Regions from separate parts of the Homo sapiens genome. Here all the other regions are linked to region 2. Evidence: promoter capture Hi-C in human tissues and cell types (Jung and others, 2019). All regions are on one chromosome and are shown on one strand. Each heading gives the region's core, a stretch centred on a gene start or on the middle of the fragment in contact. The rest is flanking DNA. Distances are from core to core; before and after follow the strand shown.

Evidence for each region. Contacts are between HindIII fragments. The study calls those that stand out against the background at their distance.
Region 1: the fragment with the promoter of SLC25A42 here is called in contact with the fragment with the promoter of TSSK6 in region 2 in 2 of the 25 tissues and cell types used here (dorsolateral prefrontal cortex and spleen).
Region 3: a contact is called between a fragment that was not itself captured here and the fragment with the promoter of TSSK6 in region 2, in 1 of the 25 tissues and cell types used here (spleen).
Region 4: the fragment with the promoter of ZNF253 here is called in contact with the fragment with the promoter of TSSK6 in region 2 in 2 of the 25 tissues and cell types used here (heart right ventricle and spleen).
Region 5: the fragment with the promoter of SUGP2 here is called in contact with the fragment with the promoter of TSSK6 in region 2 in 3 of the 25 tissues and cell types used here (H1 embryonic stem cells, dorsolateral prefrontal cortex and spleen).
Region 6: the fragment with the promoter of TMEM161A here is called in contact with the fragment with the promoter of TSSK6 in region 2 in 3 of the 25 tissues and cell types used here (H1 embryonic stem cells, dorsolateral prefrontal cortex and spleen).

The regions. Positions count from the first base shown.
Region 1 is chr19:19,062,670-19,065,369 of GRCh38, reverse strand. SLC25A42 (solute carrier family 25 member 42) reads right to left here and starts at 1,376. Exons shown (of 8, transcript NM_178526.5): 1 at 1,255-1,376. It overlaps LOC124904655 (a long non-coding RNA gene), which reads left to right and starts at 1,845. Exons shown (of 3, transcript XR_007067160.1): 1 at 1,845-2,180. RefSeq lists silencers at 1,205-1,474, 1,735-1,904. The HindIII fragment of the contact is 11,421 bases long and covers 1-2,700 here.
Region 2 is chr19:19,514,276-19,516,975 of GRCh38, reverse strand. It overlaps TSSK6 (testis specific serine kinase 6), which reads left to right and starts at 1,428. Exons shown (of 1, transcript NM_032037.4): 1 at 1,428-2,700. The coding sequence starts at 1,549. The coding sequence ends at 2,370. NDUFA13 (NADH:ubiquinone oxidoreductase subunit A13) reads right to left here and starts at 751. Exons shown (of 5, transcript NM_015965.7): 1 at 644-751. The coding sequence starts at 737. RefSeq lists an enhancer at 573-852 and a silencer at 1,063-1,182. The HindIII fragment of the contact is 21,153 bases long and covers 1-2,700 here.
Region 3 is chr19:19,888,678-19,891,377 of GRCh38, reverse strand. All of the region lies in intron 3 of ZNF253 (zinc finger protein 253), which reads right to left. Among named protein-coding and RNA genes, the nearest start is that of ZNF93, 11 kb to the left of the region's middle. The HindIII fragment of the contact is 3,621 bases long and covers 1-2,700 here.
Region 4 is chr19:19,864,499-19,867,198 of GRCh38, reverse strand. ZNF253 (zinc finger protein 253) reads right to left here and starts at 1,317. Exons shown (of 4, transcript NM_021047.3): 1 at 1,200-1,317. The coding sequence starts at 1,202. LOC124904664 (a long non-coding RNA gene) reads left to right here. Exons shown (of 4, transcript XR_007067169.1): 1 at 1-763. RefSeq lists an enhancer at 857-1,286. The HindIII fragment of the contact is 7,733 bases long and covers 1-2,700 here.
Region 5 is chr19:19,032,254-19,034,953 of GRCh38, reverse strand. It overlaps SUGP2 (SURP and G-patch domain containing 2), which reads left to right and starts at 1,437. Exons shown (of 11, transcript NM_001017392.5): 1 at 1,437-1,517. It overlaps ARMC6 (armadillo repeat containing 6), which reads right to left and starts at 1,351. Exons shown (of 9, transcript NM_001199196.2): 1 at 1,024-1,351; 2 at 716-823. The coding sequence starts at 744. RefSeq lists silencers at 1,348-1,777, 2,198-2,277 and an enhancer at 2,204-2,700. The HindIII fragment of the contact is 6,904 bases long and covers 1-2,700 here.
Region 6 is chr19:19,137,063-19,139,762 of GRCh38, reverse strand. It overlaps TMEM161A (transmembrane protein 161A), which reads left to right and starts at 1,285. Exons shown (of 12, transcript NM_017814.3): 1 at 1,285-1,337. The coding sequence starts at 1,335. RefSeq lists enhancers at 878-1,067, 1,348-1,557, 1,042-1,903 and a silencer at 1,208-1,287. The HindIII fragment of the contact is 19,527 bases long and covers 1-2,700 here.

The DNA of each region.
Region 1 (2,700 bases), core at 127-2,626, 450 kb after region 2:
CTCACTCTAAAGAGTGTTTCCTTACTCTTTATCGGCTTCAAGGGCCCAGGGAGTGTCGGAGAGGGGTCCCGGGTCTGCAAGAGCTGGGAGCCCCGGCCCCGGCAACCCCCTCTCCGGCATCCTGCAGGAGGCACCCAAGATGATGAGCCCCCCTCCTCCGGCAGCGTCTCCACCGCCAGCCTGCCCCAGGACTCCGAGACACACGCTTGGCAGAGGGGCCGTCCCTTCCAGCTAAGCCTTTCCGGACCCAGTCAAAGTCACGACTCCTGCCAATCCCTCTGAGATAAACATAACAGATGGGCCCAAACGCGGTGGGTCCACAGCAGAGGGTCAGCGATGCCCAGGGTAGAATAGGCTCTGCCTCTAGCATTCAAGTGGTTTAGGTCTGTGGCTGGTAAAATGGAGATGATTCCGGTTTGGTCTGACAGATGGGATTATTCTAAGGTCCGGAAATCACTTTATAGACTGTCAAGCACTGTTAGAAATGAACACTGGGGTAAGCTTTTGTTTGGGGAGGGGAGGGTGCAGCGATCCTGAGATACCAAGGCTTGGGGGACTATTGGAGGACCTGGGGGATTCGGGGGGATTATTACAGAGGGTGTGCGAACACAGGTGCACGTGGAAGAAAGCCCAAGGTGGGAGAGAGAAAAGGGGGAGACAGAGGTGTGGGGCTGCCAGGGCAGAGGGCAGGTGCCAGGGGGAAGGTCCCTGAGAAGAGAGACACAGGTTGCTGGGGGAGTGGGCACGAGAGTAGCGAGCAGATACCTGGATATGAGGAAAGGCAGTGGGGGACGGGACTAGGTCCAGGTGTGAGTTGCGAGGCCATGAGTTAGGAGTCACAGGCTCAGGTGTGGGTGTGGGGGTGTCATCGACAAGGACAGACTCAGGTGATGTGGGGGGTGTTCGTGAGTGGGGGCGGGTGTTCGTGAGTGGGGGCGCGGTGTCAGGTGTGTGAGGGGGATGTCAGACCCAGCTGTGCGGGGCGCCGGGGACAAGGCCCCAGGGGTGTGGGAGATGTCAGCAAGGACAGTCTAAAGTGTATGGGGGATGTCAACGAAAAGGGACGTGGTGTCAGGCGTGCGTGGACTGCGGGTGACGGGCTCAAACCTGGATGCAGTAGCCCCCAGGGGGCAGTAGACGTGGAGTGTGGGGTTGGGGGGGGTCTTTAACCTCTTCCTGCCCTCGCGACGCTACTGTCATGCCCCGCCTCATCCGCCCCTCGCCCCGGGATCCATGACAGGACCCGTGCCTCACCTCAGTTCAGCCCGACAGGCGCGGGCCGCTGACGCTTGGGCCCCCCCGGCGCCCCCCGCGCCCCCTCACCGGCCCGGACGCGTCGCCGCCGCCGCTACCTCCAGCCGCCACGGCCCCGCCTCGCGCACCCCCAGAGCGCGCCACGGGAGGGGTCCACGCCACGCCCCGATTGGCTGCTCCCTGGCCAGTCAGCGCTGGAAGCGACAGTGATTGGCGAGTATGAAGCAGATGGGCAGCCCCTAAAGCCAATCGCTGATTGGCAGAGGTGGGGCTATTGGGAGAGGCCTGGGGTGCCTGAGTGGTCCCTCAGGGTGCTAGGCGCTGGGAGGCGAGGGCCTGGAGGCAGGCGAGGATTGGAATCTTGGCAGAAAACAGGCAGAACTGTCGGCCAATCGCTGGGGGCCAGGGGCGGGGCTACGAAGAAACTGGCGCTACCGGTGGGGCAGAGGCGAGAGGAACGGAGGGCGTAGCTTGGGGGGAGACCGGGATTGGCCGCAAAGCCGAAGACTGGCAGGCCCCGCGGCCAGTCGCAGCGGCCGTGGGCGGTACGCCCCCAGGGGAGGGCTGGAGCGTTCAAGGTGCAGTCCGACCCGGAGCGCGGCAACCCGACGTGGCCTCGGACGCCTGGCGCAGGGTCCCCTGAGGCTCTCGTGTAGAGCCCGCCCTCTGGCCACCTAGCACAGAAGCGGATGTGAACTTGGACCATCAAGGCTGAAGGACTCCTGGATAATTCTCTATCCCCTTACTCCCCACTAATCCCCTGCAGACGACACGGAGAGGGCAGATTCGCTGGAGGTCACTCTGAACTGCCCTCTCCATCTCGAGGTGGTGTGAAGACATGGAAATAAGGGGCGGAATCCTACTGAAACGCGCTGCGTGGTTTTCTGAGTGTCTGACCTCTCTGCGTCCCAGCTTTCCCCGCCACGGTATCCAGTGACATCCCTGTTGGGCCTTCTCCCTGCCAAGTCTTTTTTTGAATTAACTGAATCTTAACCACAATCCCATGAGGTCAGAGAGACCACTGGCTCCTTTTACAGAAACCAGAGCACAGAGAGGTCAAGCTCCTTGCCCAAGGTTACACAGCATTCTCTGGTTGCTAAACCAGAGAATGAATCTAGAGCAGCCTGCTTTTTGGAAAGAGTGTGTCAGAGAAGAGCCACTGGGGGCCTCAGAGACCTGGGTTTGAATCCTTGTCCAATCACTGGCCCACCACACAACCTTGGGCAAAAGCCCTTGTGAGCCTCAGCTGTTTCATTTGGAAAAGAGGGGGGAAAATGATTCCTATGCCTTGATCTTTCCTCTCTGGGGTTGCTTCCCTGGGAAAATTTACAACTCAGCTCTCATTTTAATTATCTGGTGAAAGCATTTGACCCTGAGCAGGTCATGTGCGGCCTGTGAGCCTCAGCTCCTCTGTGAAGTGCAGAAAAATGCCGGCAGTTTAGGGAG
Region 2 (2,700 bases), core at 179-2,678:
GTCTCTACTAAAAACACAAAGTTAGCCAGGCGTTGTGGCACATGCCTGTAATCCCAGCTACTCAGGAGGCTGAGGCAAGAGAATCGCTTGAACCCAGGAGGCGGAGGTTGCGGTGAGCCGAGATGGCGCCATTGCACTCCAGCCTGGGCAACAAGAGCAAAACTCCGTCTCAAAAAAAAAAAATTGAAAATTTAAAGAATATGGATTCCTGTGACACCATGCAGGCGGGGGCTGCCAGCAGGGAACCACTGCATAGAACATCTTGTAAATTCCCTCCAGGTTCCGGGTTGCGGCCTCAGCTTTGCCTTGGGGAGCCGCGGCCTTCTTTGGGCCTCAGTTTCCCCATCTTAGAAATCCAAGGGTGGCTGAGGGCCAGAGCACAGGCTATGACTCAGTTTAACCCACTGTAAAACGTAAATAACTAGAGGGACCGATTTCCTGGGCTGTTACGAGAAGGAAGAGGAGCTGGGAAAGACCTCAACAAACTGCAGCACTTAGCGTTATTACAGAAGCTATGATGGATCCCCGGGCTCCGCCTCCGGTCACACCGCCGGGAAAACTGAGGCCCGCCTGTGTCCCCGGAACCCCGCCCCCGAGCCCCGAGTGCCCAGACTCTGAGACCCCGGCGCAGAGTGATACTGACCCGACAGTCCTCGACGCGGCAAGTTCCGTTTGTAGTCGATGGGCCCATAGCCCCCCGGCGGAGGCATGTCCTGCTTCACCTTTGACGCCGCCATACTCGCAGTATCCCACACTTCCGGTCCCGGGCGGAAGTGACTTACTGCCACCGCCATGATGAGTGTGGCGGAAGCACTTGAGATGGTCCGCGGCACGGCTAGGAAGTCCCGGACAGTAGTGTAACTATCCGACCGCGCGGGAAAGCTCTGGCGGCGGACCCTGGGTAGGAATGCGCTGCCGGGCTGCAGCTGAGGGGTCTTTACTCCTCTTTTGCCCAGACAGGGCGTGACTCGCCTTGGTTCTTGCATTATAGGCCCTCGCGTTCACCTTGCCTCTGGGGTGTTGCGCAGGCCAGTCAGAAACTCCGAGCTCTCAAAGGAGCCAGGTGCCCCAGTTAAGGCCCCTTTTCCCGTTTTCGCCCCGTCTAGGGACTCTACGCGAAGCCCAGGGCTCCACGTAGTCACGGGCTGGGTACATGATGTTGGGGGGCAGCTGCTGCTCGAAGTCGGACTCACCCCAATCCCTGGAACGGATTCTGCTCCCTGGTGGTGATGGGTATCCCTTGCTAGTGGCCTCTCATCGGAAACTGACCATTCAGGATGATTATGAGTCACAAAGCAGGGAGGCTAGGGTGGCCCCGGGGCGGGGTCCCGGACCCCCACCCTAAGGCGGAGTGACGCCCGCAGTCACTTCACAAGGCAAAAATTGTTACGGGGCAATAAAAGGCACAACAGCGGCCAATGTCTGGCAGTGGGCACATGGGGGTGCGGGGGTGTAGGTGCCAAGCGCCATGGCTTAGACCCGAGATTGGAGTCCGGCCGCCCCCCGACAGCAGCCGCCTCCTGCCCCCCGTGCGCCCTAGGCGCCACCATGTCGGGAGACAAACTTCTGAGCGAACTCGGTTATAAGCTGGGCCGCACAATTGGAGAGGGCAGCTACTCCAAGGTGAAGGTGGCCACATCCAAGAAGTACAAGGGTACCGTGGCCATCAAGGTGGTGGACCGGCGGCGAGCGCCCCCGGACTTCGTCAACAAGTTCCTGCCGCGAGAGCTGTCCATCCTGCGGGGCGTGCGACACCCGCACATCGTGCACGTCTTCGAGTTCATCGAGGTGTGCAACGGGAAACTGTACATCGTGATGGAAGCGGCCGCCACCGACCTGCTGCAAGCCGTGCAGCGCAACGGGCGCATCCCCGGAGTTCAGGCGCGCGACCTCTTTGCGCAGATCGCCGGCGCCGTGCGCTACCTGCACGATCATCACCTGGTGCACCGCGACCTCAAGTGCGAAAACGTGCTGCTGAGCCCGGACGAGCGCCGCGTCAAGCTCACCGACTTCGGCTTCGGCCGCCAGGCCCATGGCTACCCAGACCTGAGCACCACCTACTGCGGCTCAGCCGCCTACGCGTCACCCGAGGTGCTCCTGGGCATCCCCTACGACCCCAAGAAGTACGATGTGTGGAGCATGGGCGTCGTGCTCTACGTCATGGTCACCGGGTGCATGCCCTTCGACGACTCGGACATCGCCGGCCTGCCCCGGCGCCAGAAACGCGGCGTGCTCTATCCCGAAGGCCTCGAGCTGTCCGAGCGCTGCAAGGCCCTGATCGCCGAGCTGCTGCAGTTCAGCCCGTCCGCCAGGCCCTCCGCGGGCCAGGTAGCGCGCAACTGCTGGCTGCGCGCCGGGGACTCCGGCTAGAAGCCGGGTGGTTCCAGCCATTCCTGCAGCCAAGGGCACTGGGCCAGGGCGGCGCACGCGCAAGAGGCGCGCTTCGAGGGAATATGCGAAGCTGCCGCGTGCTGCTGCACATGCGCTTTTTCCCTTCCGCTTCCCTCCCTTTCTTCCCACGGGGGAGTCCGCAGTTGCCCTTGTTCGGAATCCACGTTCCCCGCGATCCCGGGAGCTGGAGGCGCATGCGCATCCGCGATTCCCTGCGACCAGGCCCCGAGAGGGCGAGACCAGAGGGGACGGAAGCATTGCGCCTGCGCGGAACTCTCAGCCTCTGCGCGGAGGGCGTCCCTTCCCAAC
Region 3 (2,700 bases), core at 112-2,611, 370 kb before region 2:
AAGATGACATAGCAAAATACCACCAGTTCTGATTTCTTCCTGGACACATAAATGTAACAAAAACATAGTGACAAAAATAAAATTGTAAAAAATTTATAAATGAGTTAAGTGTGTGAAGGGCTCCAGGTGAGCAGAATGCAAATAGCCACATAGAAGAAAAAGAAAGCTCTGTTAGTTATACCCAACACAGCTCTTCCTGCTGCCCAGTATAACATTGTGCTTTTAAAAGTAAATTGCCAGTTGGGCATGGTGGCTCACGCCTGTAATCACAGCACTTTGGGAGGCTGAGGTGGGTGGATCATGAGGTCGGGAGTTCAAGACCAGCCTGGCCAAGATGGTGAAACCTTGTCTCTACTAAAAATACAAAAAATTAGCCAGACATGGTGGCGGGCACATTTAATCCCAGCTACTCGGAGGGCTGCGGCAGAGAATTGCTTGAACCAGGGAGGCAAAGACTGCAGTGAGCCAAGATTGCACCACTGCACTCCAGCCTGGGCAACAGAGTGAGACGCCATCTCAAAAAAAAAAAAAAAAAAAAAAAAAAATTAAATTGTTGGCCAGGCATGATGGCTAATGCCTGTAACCCCAGCACTTTGGTAAGGCAAGGCAGGTGGATCACCTAAGGTGAGGAGACTGAGACCAGCCTGACCAACATGGTGAAACCCCATCTCAACTAAAAATACAGAAAATTAGCCAGGCATGGTAACAGGTACCTGTAATCCTAGCTACCTGAAGGCTGAGGCAGGAGAATTGCTTCAACTGTGGAGACGGAGATTGTAGTGAGCTAAGATTTTTGCCACTGCACTCCAGCCTAGGTAAGAGAGTGAGACTCTGTCACACACACACACACACACACACACACACACACACACACACACAAATATAAATTGCCAACTCCTGGTTTCTTTTTTAAAAATAAGAAAAATATTGGCACATACATCTTTATTTCTGGCATCTATGAACTTTTTTAGACACCGGCTAATGTCTCCCATGACATAAAATGCTGAAACAGTGATATGTTAGAATGACAGTTTGAGTCTGCTGAGTCTAAAGGTAAATGTTACAGAAGCAGAGAAACTGCAGTAATCCAAACAGGAATGGCTGTAGCAAGTGATTACTGATTATTAGGAAGAAATATGAATAAGCCGATTTAACTAAACAATAAACACAAAATTTTAGACAAGACACATCCTAAAAACATGTTTGAGAAATTCCCAGAATCTCTAGCCAAAACAATTGATTTCAGACTACACAAGGACAAAACTATATTATAAAGATTGGCACAGGTAGCTTTTTGTTAATGCCTGAATCTCACTCAAAGATTACAATGTATACAAAATATTTGGGCAGCATGGCCCATCAAAAAAATTATAAAATTTTCAAAAGCAGCCATAAAAAGTGAATAAAGTAATTTTTAAAATTCAGAATAAATTGAACAGGCCAAGCTTGGAAGCTCATTCCTGTAATTCTAACACATTGGGAAGCCAAGGTAGGAAAATCACATGAGGTCAGGAGTTTGAGACCAGCCTGGCCAACATGGTGAAACCCTGTAACTACTAAAAATACAAAAATTAGCTGGGCGTGGTGGCATGTGCCTGTAATCCCAGCCACGTAGGAGACTGACACACGAGAACTGCTTGAACCCAAGATGGGAAGCTTGCAGTGAGTGACTGTACCACTGCTGGCCAGGCTGGGCAACAGAGCAAGCCTGTCTCAAAAAAAAAATAAAGTAGGACAGGAACAGTGGCTCATGCCTGTAATCCCAGCACTTTGGGAGGCTGGGGTGGGTGGATCATTTGAGGTCAGGAGTTCAAGATCAGCCTGGCCAACAGAGTGAAAGCCTATCTCTACTAAAAATACAAAAATCAGCCAAATGTGGCAGCATGCACCTGTAATCCCAGCTACTGGGAGGCTGAGGCAGGAGACTCACTTGAACCTGGGAGGGGTAGGTTACAGTGAGCCAAGATCATGCCACTGCACTCTAGCCTGGGCAACAGAGTGAGACTCTGTCTCAGAAAATAAATAAATTAATTAATTACATAAAAGAAATTGAATGATATTCAGTAAGTGAAATAGGAACACAGACGACTACTGAAGATCAGAAAAATGAGGATAAACAAGAAAAAATATTAAAATAGAAAAAAACAAAAATTATGGATATAAAAAATATAAAAATAACTTAAAAATTTCTTAAAAGAAAAAATAATGTAAACATGAAGAAGCTGAACAAACTAGGATACACAAAAAGATATTTATCACAAACACACCTATAAGCAAAATTTCAAAAATCACAGATAAGAAAAGAATTTTGGGTGCTGCAAGATAAAAATGATGTGTCATTTATAAGCATAGTCTTATAAGATAACCAGTGAATTTATCAAAAAAAATTTTTGCAGAAAATAATACCATCGGCAAAATTGTACTATCATATAAAAAGGAGTCCTTCCAAAATAACCAAATCCTAAGAAAGTATATTGGCACTGCATATGCCCTACCTATCAAAGATGCTGAAAGAAGTTTCTTCCACTGAAAATAACATAATACAAGAAAACAACACATGATCATATGAAAATACATAACTTTCTGGAGAAGATATGCACATACACAAAAATAGAATTCCTTACTTATTATCATAATGGCACAGAAAGCACTTTTAGTTATTCTCTAAAATGCAAAAGATGGAAGTAGAGGAATTATTAT
Region 4 (2,700 bases), core at 68-2,567, 350 kb before region 2:
CAGCTAATTTTTGTACTTTTAGTAGAGATGGGGTTTCCCCATTTTGGCCAGGCTGGTCTTCAACTCCTGACCTCAAGTGATCCATCCACCTCGACCTCCTGAAGTGTTGTTATTACAGGCGTGAGCCACCGCGCCCGGCCCCATAAATTTTTAATAGGAGAAAAGGGAAACTGTGAACCCTGACAGATATAATAGATTCCTCTTCAAGGGCCTAACTTTCTTGTTCCTTGTTCTTAGGACCAACTTTTTTGTACCTCTTTGTACCTAGACACCCGCTCCGTAAACAACCCAAACCGCCTGTTCCAATCTGCGACCCGAACCCCTTCCTTATTTGGAAAGTAGCCAATCGGGTCAGCCTAGATTGTGAGGTCAGACCCCGGCCAATGGGGGAAGGACACAGAGGCAATAACGGCGTTTAGGGTTAAAAACCCCTTTCAAACTGGGAGGCCGAGGCGGGCGGATCAACTGAGTTCGGGAGTTCAAAACCAGCCTGACCAACATGGTGAAACGGCATGTCTACTAAAAATACAAAATCAGCCGGGTGTGGTGACGCATGCCTGTAACCCCAGCTACTCGGGAGGCTGAGGCAGGAGAATCACTTGAACCCGGGAGACGGAGGTTGCAGTGAGCCGAGATCGCGCCATTGTACTTTAGCCTGGGCCACAAGAGCAAAACTCCGCCTCAAAAAAAAAAAAAACCTTCCTTCCTTTCTTCTGTGTGCTCTTGCGATCAGGTCGGACGCGAGCAGCACTCTTCTTCAGAAGTAAATATGCCTTCCTGTGAAATTTTCTAAGTGCTGGGTAGTTTTTTGTTTTGTGTTGTTTTGCGGCACCAAGCGCTTGTTTCTAACAACCTCACGGACCAAAGCTCTTCCCATTCATGAACCCGCAGGGAACCGAGTCAGGATTCTCCCCTGACGACCCTCCCGTGGTCCTTGCATGATCTGGGAGAGACGCGGTGCTGCGGGTGCAGAGCTGCTGAAAGAGGGCTCCAGGCCAGGGCACAATCACTGTGCCGGGCCCCGGATGTCACCGCAGCCGCCATCTTATGGCTGAAGGGGACTGAGGCCGAGCTGGGCAGGGAGAACTCCGGCGGCAGATTGTGGAGCTGACTGTGAGGAAGCAGAGTCCCGCCAGAGCCACTTCCCACCGTTCCAAACAGCCTCTCCCCTCTCTCGGGACGTTGGACCCGGCACTCACCATTTCTAGGCTTCCAGGGGTCCCGGGGTTTAGCTGTGGCTCTCCCAATACTTGCAGGTCACACGGCCACAGAGGACGGGCCTCTATAAGCACAGGACACAGAACACTGAGGATAAACCTGGAGCTCCCGCTGCAGCGAGAAACAAAGGCCCCCAGAAACCATGTGGTTCGCTCCAGCTGCGTGCCTGATTGGACGGTTTCCGGCCCAGCGTCCCTCATTGGATAATGCCTAAGGCCCCGCCTCCCCAGCCGCTGAGTGACAGATGTGATCAGATACTGGGCTGAGTGAAGAAAGAGTGACAGCCTAGGCTGCAGCCTTTTCTTTCTTTCTTTCTTTCTTTCTTTCTTTCTTTCTTTCTTTCTTTCTTTCTTTCTTTCTTTCTTTCTTTCTTTCTTTCTTTCTTTCTTTCTTTCTTTCTTTCTTTCTTTCCTTTCTTTCTTTCTTTCTTTTTCTTTCTTTCTTTCTTTCTTTCTTTTCTTTCTTTTTTCCCCCCACCGAGACGGAGTTTCCCTCTTGTTGCCCAGGCTAGAGTGCAATGGCACGATGTTGGCTCACCGCAACCTGCACCTCCCGGGTTCAAGCGATTCTCCTACCTCAGCCTCCCATGTAGCTGGGATTACAGGCATGCCTCACCACGCCCGTCTAATTTTTTGTACTTTTAGTAGAGACAGGGTTTCTCCGTGTTGGTCAGGCTGGTCTCGAGCTCCCGATCTCAGGTGATCCGCCCGCCTCGGCCTCCCAAAGTGCTGGGATTACAAGCGTGAGCCACCGCGCCTAGCCTAGCTGGAGCCTTTTCAAACGGCTTCCTCCCTGAGCTGAGCATCCCATCCCAGAGCATGGGAAAATTCTATCTCATATTCTCTCTCTTTTTGAATGTATTCAAAAGGTGAACAGAAGTACTTTGCTGTCATATTAATAATACATGAAATGTTTGTTCAAGAGAAAGTCAACTTTTACTTTGGTAATAGTGTATTATCAATACTAAAGCTAATTTTAATAAGACCTTGTAAAGCCAGGTGCGGTGGCTCAGGCCTGTAATCCCAGTACTTTGGGAGGCTGAGGAGGGCAGATCACTGGGTCAGGAAATCGAGACCATCCTGGCTAACACGGTGAAACTCTGTCTCTACTAAAAATACAAAAAATTACCCGGGCGTGGTGGCATGCACCTGTGGTCCCAGCTACTCAGGAGGCTGAGGCAGGAGAATGGCTTGAACCCAGGAGGCAGAGGTTGCGGTGAGCCAAGATCGCACCACTGCACTCAAGCCTGGGTGACAAAGTGAGACTGCGTCTCCAAAAATGAATAAATACATAAATAAAACCTTGTAAATAAACAAAATTTGTCATTTTTGACCTCTCGAGATTTACATATATAATTTGTAATCTCCTGTAATTTTTTAACTATATTTTATTTATATCTACATTCTTTTTATTTTTTCAGTTTGAAACAACCTTTAAGTAATTTCAAACTGTTATAGGAGATAGAAAGAAATCATTTAGGGA
Region 5 (2,700 bases), core at 188-2,687, 480 kb after region 2:
GGAGACGGAGCTTGCAGTGAGCTGAGATTGCGCCACTGCACTCCAGCCTGGGTGACAGAACGAGACTCCGTCTCAAAAAAAAAAAAAAAGGCCAGGCAAGATAGTGCACACCGGTAATCCCAGCTACTCAGGAGGCTGAGGCAGGAGATCGCTTGAACTCCTTTTGACTCCGTTTCAAAAAAAAAAAAAATACAAAATTTAGCCAGGTGCGGTGTTGCGCACCTGTAGTCCCAGCTACTCGGGAGGCTGAGGCAGGGGAAGCCCTTGAACCCGGGAGGTGGAGGTTGCAGTGAGTCAAGATCATGCCACTACACTCTAGCCTGGGCGACAGAGAAAGACTCCGTCTCAAAAGAAAATTAAACGTGTGCCATGACATGCTGGGGACTCTAAAAGACTCCATCCACATGTCCCTCTACCAGCCACACCCACTCTGGTTCAAACACCAGCCTCCCCTAAGGGCGGCGTCACCTGCCACTCCCAGAGCCTAGACTCCACCTCACTCACGTGCTCAAAGCCCGGTAGTGGCTTCCCAACCCTCTCAGAACAAAACCCAGCCTCCTTATCCGCACCTTCTCTATCTAAGCCTTCCAAGTTCCTCTTCCCCGCCTTTCTCATCCTTCCCAGCACTCAAGAGACAGCCTTCAAAACCACTTCTAGATAAAGAGCAGCCCTGCTTTCCCGTCCCATCACTCTGTTATTATTTGCACACCATTACCTGTATCTAGAGCAACATCGTTCACTCATTTATTTGTACCCTGTAGCCTCCTTGTCCCCACTGCCTAGGACGGGGCCCGACACGCAGCAGGCACTCAGTGCACAGGTGCTGAATGAATAAATAAAATGAATGAAAATAAAGCGAATGCCAGGGAAGCCGAGGATTTTGTCCCCAGGCGGCTTCTGTAAAATTCTTTCATTTTTTTTTTCCCCCCAAACCACGTACCCGAGGGTCGCGCCAGCCCGACCCTGCGGCACCCCCACTCCCCACTCCGCGCGGGACAGGCCTCGGCAGCCGCAGCGTCTCACCCGGTCTTCGCGGCCACGTGGGGAAAGGTGGGGCGCGCGGTTGTCACCCAGGGAGCCGCCTCTAGCCCCTTCCGGCCGCCGTACGCGCGCAGGCGCTGTGGCGCCCCTAGGCTTGGCCTCCCAGAGACTCGCGGACGCTCACGATAACCAAGGACGACCGCGAACCAAGGTAAAGCCAACGAGGCCACCTCGTGCGCGACGGAGGCGTCTTTGCCGCCCCTTCCGGGACGCTCACGGTGGTCGCCGCCCCCAGCAGGGAAATGTTTTGCCTCCAGAGCGTCCGCCCAGAAGAAGCGGACAGCGCGCTTGCGCAAGAGAGCCGGGCCGCGGCGGCCCGCGCCTGCGCACCAGGACTCGGCGGCGGCTTGCGCCTGCGCGGCGCGGCGCTGCGGAGACCGTTGGTTCATTTGCATGTCCCCGCCTCGCGCGGCGGCGGCGGCGGGTGAGGAGCCTGAGGCGGCGGCGGGGGTGGCTCCGCGCGCGGTGGTCTCGGGGTGAGGCCCGGGCCCTGGCGTCGTCGGTGGGTGGCTCCCGGGGTGGGAAGCTCGGGCTCGGCCTTGGGGGCCCGCCCCGGGCTCCGTGATGGCGTCGCAGGCTCGGCCCTCTGGCTGCGGCGGCGGCCGCGTCCCCGCCGGGTTGGCCTGGGTGGCCGGCTGCGGCCTCCCGGGCCCGGCGCCCCCATTTCCTCGCCCGCAGAGGCCGGGAGACGGCGGGCCGCGTCCACAAAGGCTCATTGGTTCAGTCGTTCATTCATTCCTCCCGAACTCGGAGCGGCCCCCGCTCGGGAGGAGATAACGGCGCCCAGCGCTGCATCGGGCCCTTGCCCTCTTTAGAACCGGTTCAGCCCCCACACCAGCCCCTTTACTGGCTGCCCATTCCATAGGTGGGGAAACGGAAGCACAGAAAGCTTAGAATCGTGTGATTTGAACCTGGGTCACCTGACCCGGGAACCCTGCCCTTTGCCAGCAGAGAACAAGGGGGCGCCCCGGGAAAAGGGCTGAAGGATGGGACTGGGGGAGGCGGGTGGGGGAGGCGGTGATCGTGATGGGAAATGGACCCTACGGGTTGTCTCTTGAAGTTGGAGGTTTTGCGAAGCGGGATATCTTGATGGTTAAGGATGCAGCCCCTGGACCCCAAAATGTTGCTTAATCTTTTTACTCATTCTTCGGGGCTTTGGATGCACGAATACCCTTTTTGCCAGGTTCAAATCTGGGCTGTCTGGTCTTGAATGGGTCGTTGAGTCTGTCTCCCTTTGCCTCCTCACCCTAATGTCATTCATAACAGGACCCGCCTCTTCAGTGGGTGGTTGGGAGATCGCGCAAGGACCCAGCGCAGAATGAACTGTCACTAGTTCATTGTCATTGGTTGGGGGTCCCGCCACTCACTGTCAAGAGGCTTCTTTTAGAAGGGAAGGAAGTTCTCAGAGCCTCTGTGCCCTGCTGAGTCTGTGAATGGGAAAAGAGTGATCCTGGGCCAGGCGCAGTGGCTCACGGCCTGGAATCCCAGCACTTTGGGAGGCCGAAGCGGGCGAATCACTTGAGGTCAGGAATTCAAGACCAGCCTGGCCAACATGGTGAAACTCCATCTCTACCTAAAATATAAAAATTAGTCGGATGCGGTGGCGGACTCCTGTAATCCCAGCTACTCAGGAGGCTGAGGCAGGAGAATTGCTTGAGT
Region 6 (2,700 bases), core at 36-2,535, 380 kb after region 2:
ATAAAATATAAACCAGGCCCGGTGGCTCACGCCTGTAATCTCAGCACTCTGGGAGGCCGACGTGGGCGGATCACCTCAAGTCGGGAGTTCAAGACCAACCTGATCAACATGGAGAAACCTCATCTCTACTAAAAATGCAAAATTAGCCAGTCGTGGTGGTGCATGCCTGTAATCCCAGCTACTCGGGAGGCTGAGGCAGGAGACTCACTTGAACCCAAGAGGCGGAAGTTGCGGTGAGCCAAGATCACACCATTTCACTCCAGCCTGGGCAACAAGAGCGAAACTCCGTCTCAAGAAAAAAAAAAATTAATACACAAATACATAATAAAATGTAAAAACGAAAAGGTAATTACTCAGGCCCCACACACAGGAACCCACCCCCATAAAGATGCTCAGACACTCAGTCATACCCAATATATGTCTACACTCAGGCAGACACACTCATCCACAGAAAGACAAATGGCAAAACCGGGGCACAAACACCAGAAGCCCTTTCCTCCTAGCGGTGAAATAAAGAACATCAGATCCCTGAAGCTGACATTTGGTCCTTGATCCAGCCACGCCTGAAGCTGACACTATGGCTAGTATTTTCTGTCACATGAGCCAAAAATTTTCCTTTTTTGCTTGAACCCATGTTAGTTGATATTTTGTGGAGCACAGCCAGAGTCCTAGCTGATAGAGATGAATAAGGCACTTGCCAGGTGAAAAAGATTGAGGCATTCTTTTTTGCTTTTGTTTTGTTTTTATTTTAAGATTGAGGCATTCTTGAAGGCATTGCAAGATGTAGGATATTTACAAAGGCCTGGAGGTATGAGACAGCATGGTGGGTGCAAGTTGTACTATAGGGTGCACAATAGTGCTAGCAGCAGATTTAAGTCAGGCAGAAGGGTCTGAATTCAGTCTGAGTACTTAGCCTACTTAGTACTTAGGAGTACTAAGTACTTCGTCTACTAAGTGGGAGCCATTGAATGTTCTTGATGGGGGGAGGGAATTCTACTCTCAGAAATGTCCCTTAGGTGGGAATAAATGCTTTCGCTGCAAACCTTTGAGATAAGTGTAGGAAAGAGAAAACTAAGCCTTAAGAGAGGTCGGCCACGCAGGCCTCCCAGACACAATCTTCACTTTGATCGATCCGAACCAGCGTATCTGAACTACAATTTCCGGCATGCAACGCGAGCGGCCTCCTCGTCCCTGGTGATTTGCCGGCTCAAGACACACTGATTGGTCGGACGGGATGCTCGTCAGACCAGAGTCGGGCTCTAATTGGTCGAGTTTCCGCAGAGTGCCCGGAGCCCTAGGCCGGTGGGTGAGTGCACCGCGTTCTCGCACGCGTCATGGTGAGCGAGCGTCCCGCGAAGTGGGGGGTTCTGCAGGGCCGAGGTCCAGCCGAAGGGGTCCAGGGAGACACTGAGGGAATGGATTGGGGTTTCTTCTTGGGGATTGGAGGCTCTGAGGGATTCGGGGGCACGCTGAAGGCCGTGTGTCCCTCTCTGGGAGCCCTGCTCTCGCTACAGGACCTCCGAGGGAGTCGGCGGGAGTTGTACCCAGGGGGACTAGAAGCCCCTAAGCGTTCTGGGGATTCTGCCCTCGAGACCTTTTAGGGGTCTGGGATCCTTTTGAGGGGTCGTGGTCCCACAGAGGGGACTGGGGACCCCAGCACATTTGGAACCTGGTTAAGGCGGTGTGGGGTCCTGTTGGGGGTCCACTCTGGGGACGGGGGTCCTGCAGGAGCGTGGGGGCCGCGCCGACAGGATCCATCGGGGGTCCCTGCTATATCGGGGTGTGTGGAACGGGCAGGGGAGGCCGTGGGAGGTGGACTCAGGAGGTCTGGTTGGCCTCAGGGCGGGCAAGGTTCTCAGAGTGGGAGACAGGAAAGTTGGAACCTTCAGGTCTCACGCGGCTCTGGGTCCAACCTATTGAGTGTGTTCTTAAAACTTAGCCCAGCCCCTGGGGGTCAGGCTGGTGCAGGGAGATGGGGGACTCCCACAACCCTGACGGGACCGGCCTGGGCAGAGAGAGGGACGTGGAACTGGAGGGTCTCTGCCTGGGACCATCCCCGAGGAGGGGCGCTGGAGATGGCCCTGAAGGAAGGGCACTGATGGCCGGAATTATTGAAAGTGGGGCGTCGTCCCAGGCGGAGGTGCAGGACGCCGTAGGAGATGAAGGCACAGGCTCCCGGGAATGAGGAGGGAGGCTGCATTGATTTTATCAGGGTTCTTGAGTTCGAGAATCGTAAATCCAGTGAAGGGAAAAGAAGGAGCTGATGGAAGACTCCAGAAAATTCTTGCAGATGTCTGCAGAGCCCTGACCCTGAGACAGGAGGCTGGGTGGAGGGCAGGGCCATCAGAACATCCCTGGACAGACCTCTGGGAGCCTTAGGTGGAGAGATGCACCCCTCCACCACCTTTTCCCTTGGGGGGTTTTGGGGGGTGGTGGGGTCATTGATGAAGAGCCCAAAGGTCCAGGAAGACCTCTGAGACTCCAGTGGTTGGGTGCAGGGAGGGCTGAGGAGAGAGCTGAGCTGTGGGGAGGTGGAGGGATGGTCTCTAGCTATGCCTGCAGGGTGCAGAACCAAGTTGGGGGCTGACTGTGAGACTGGGAAGGGCCTGAACCACCTGGAAGGGTATGGGATGATGGGTGAGTGCTAGGGTCTCCCAGGAGAGCCTGGAGGAGGCTACTGGTTGAGCTCAGCAGAGAGGT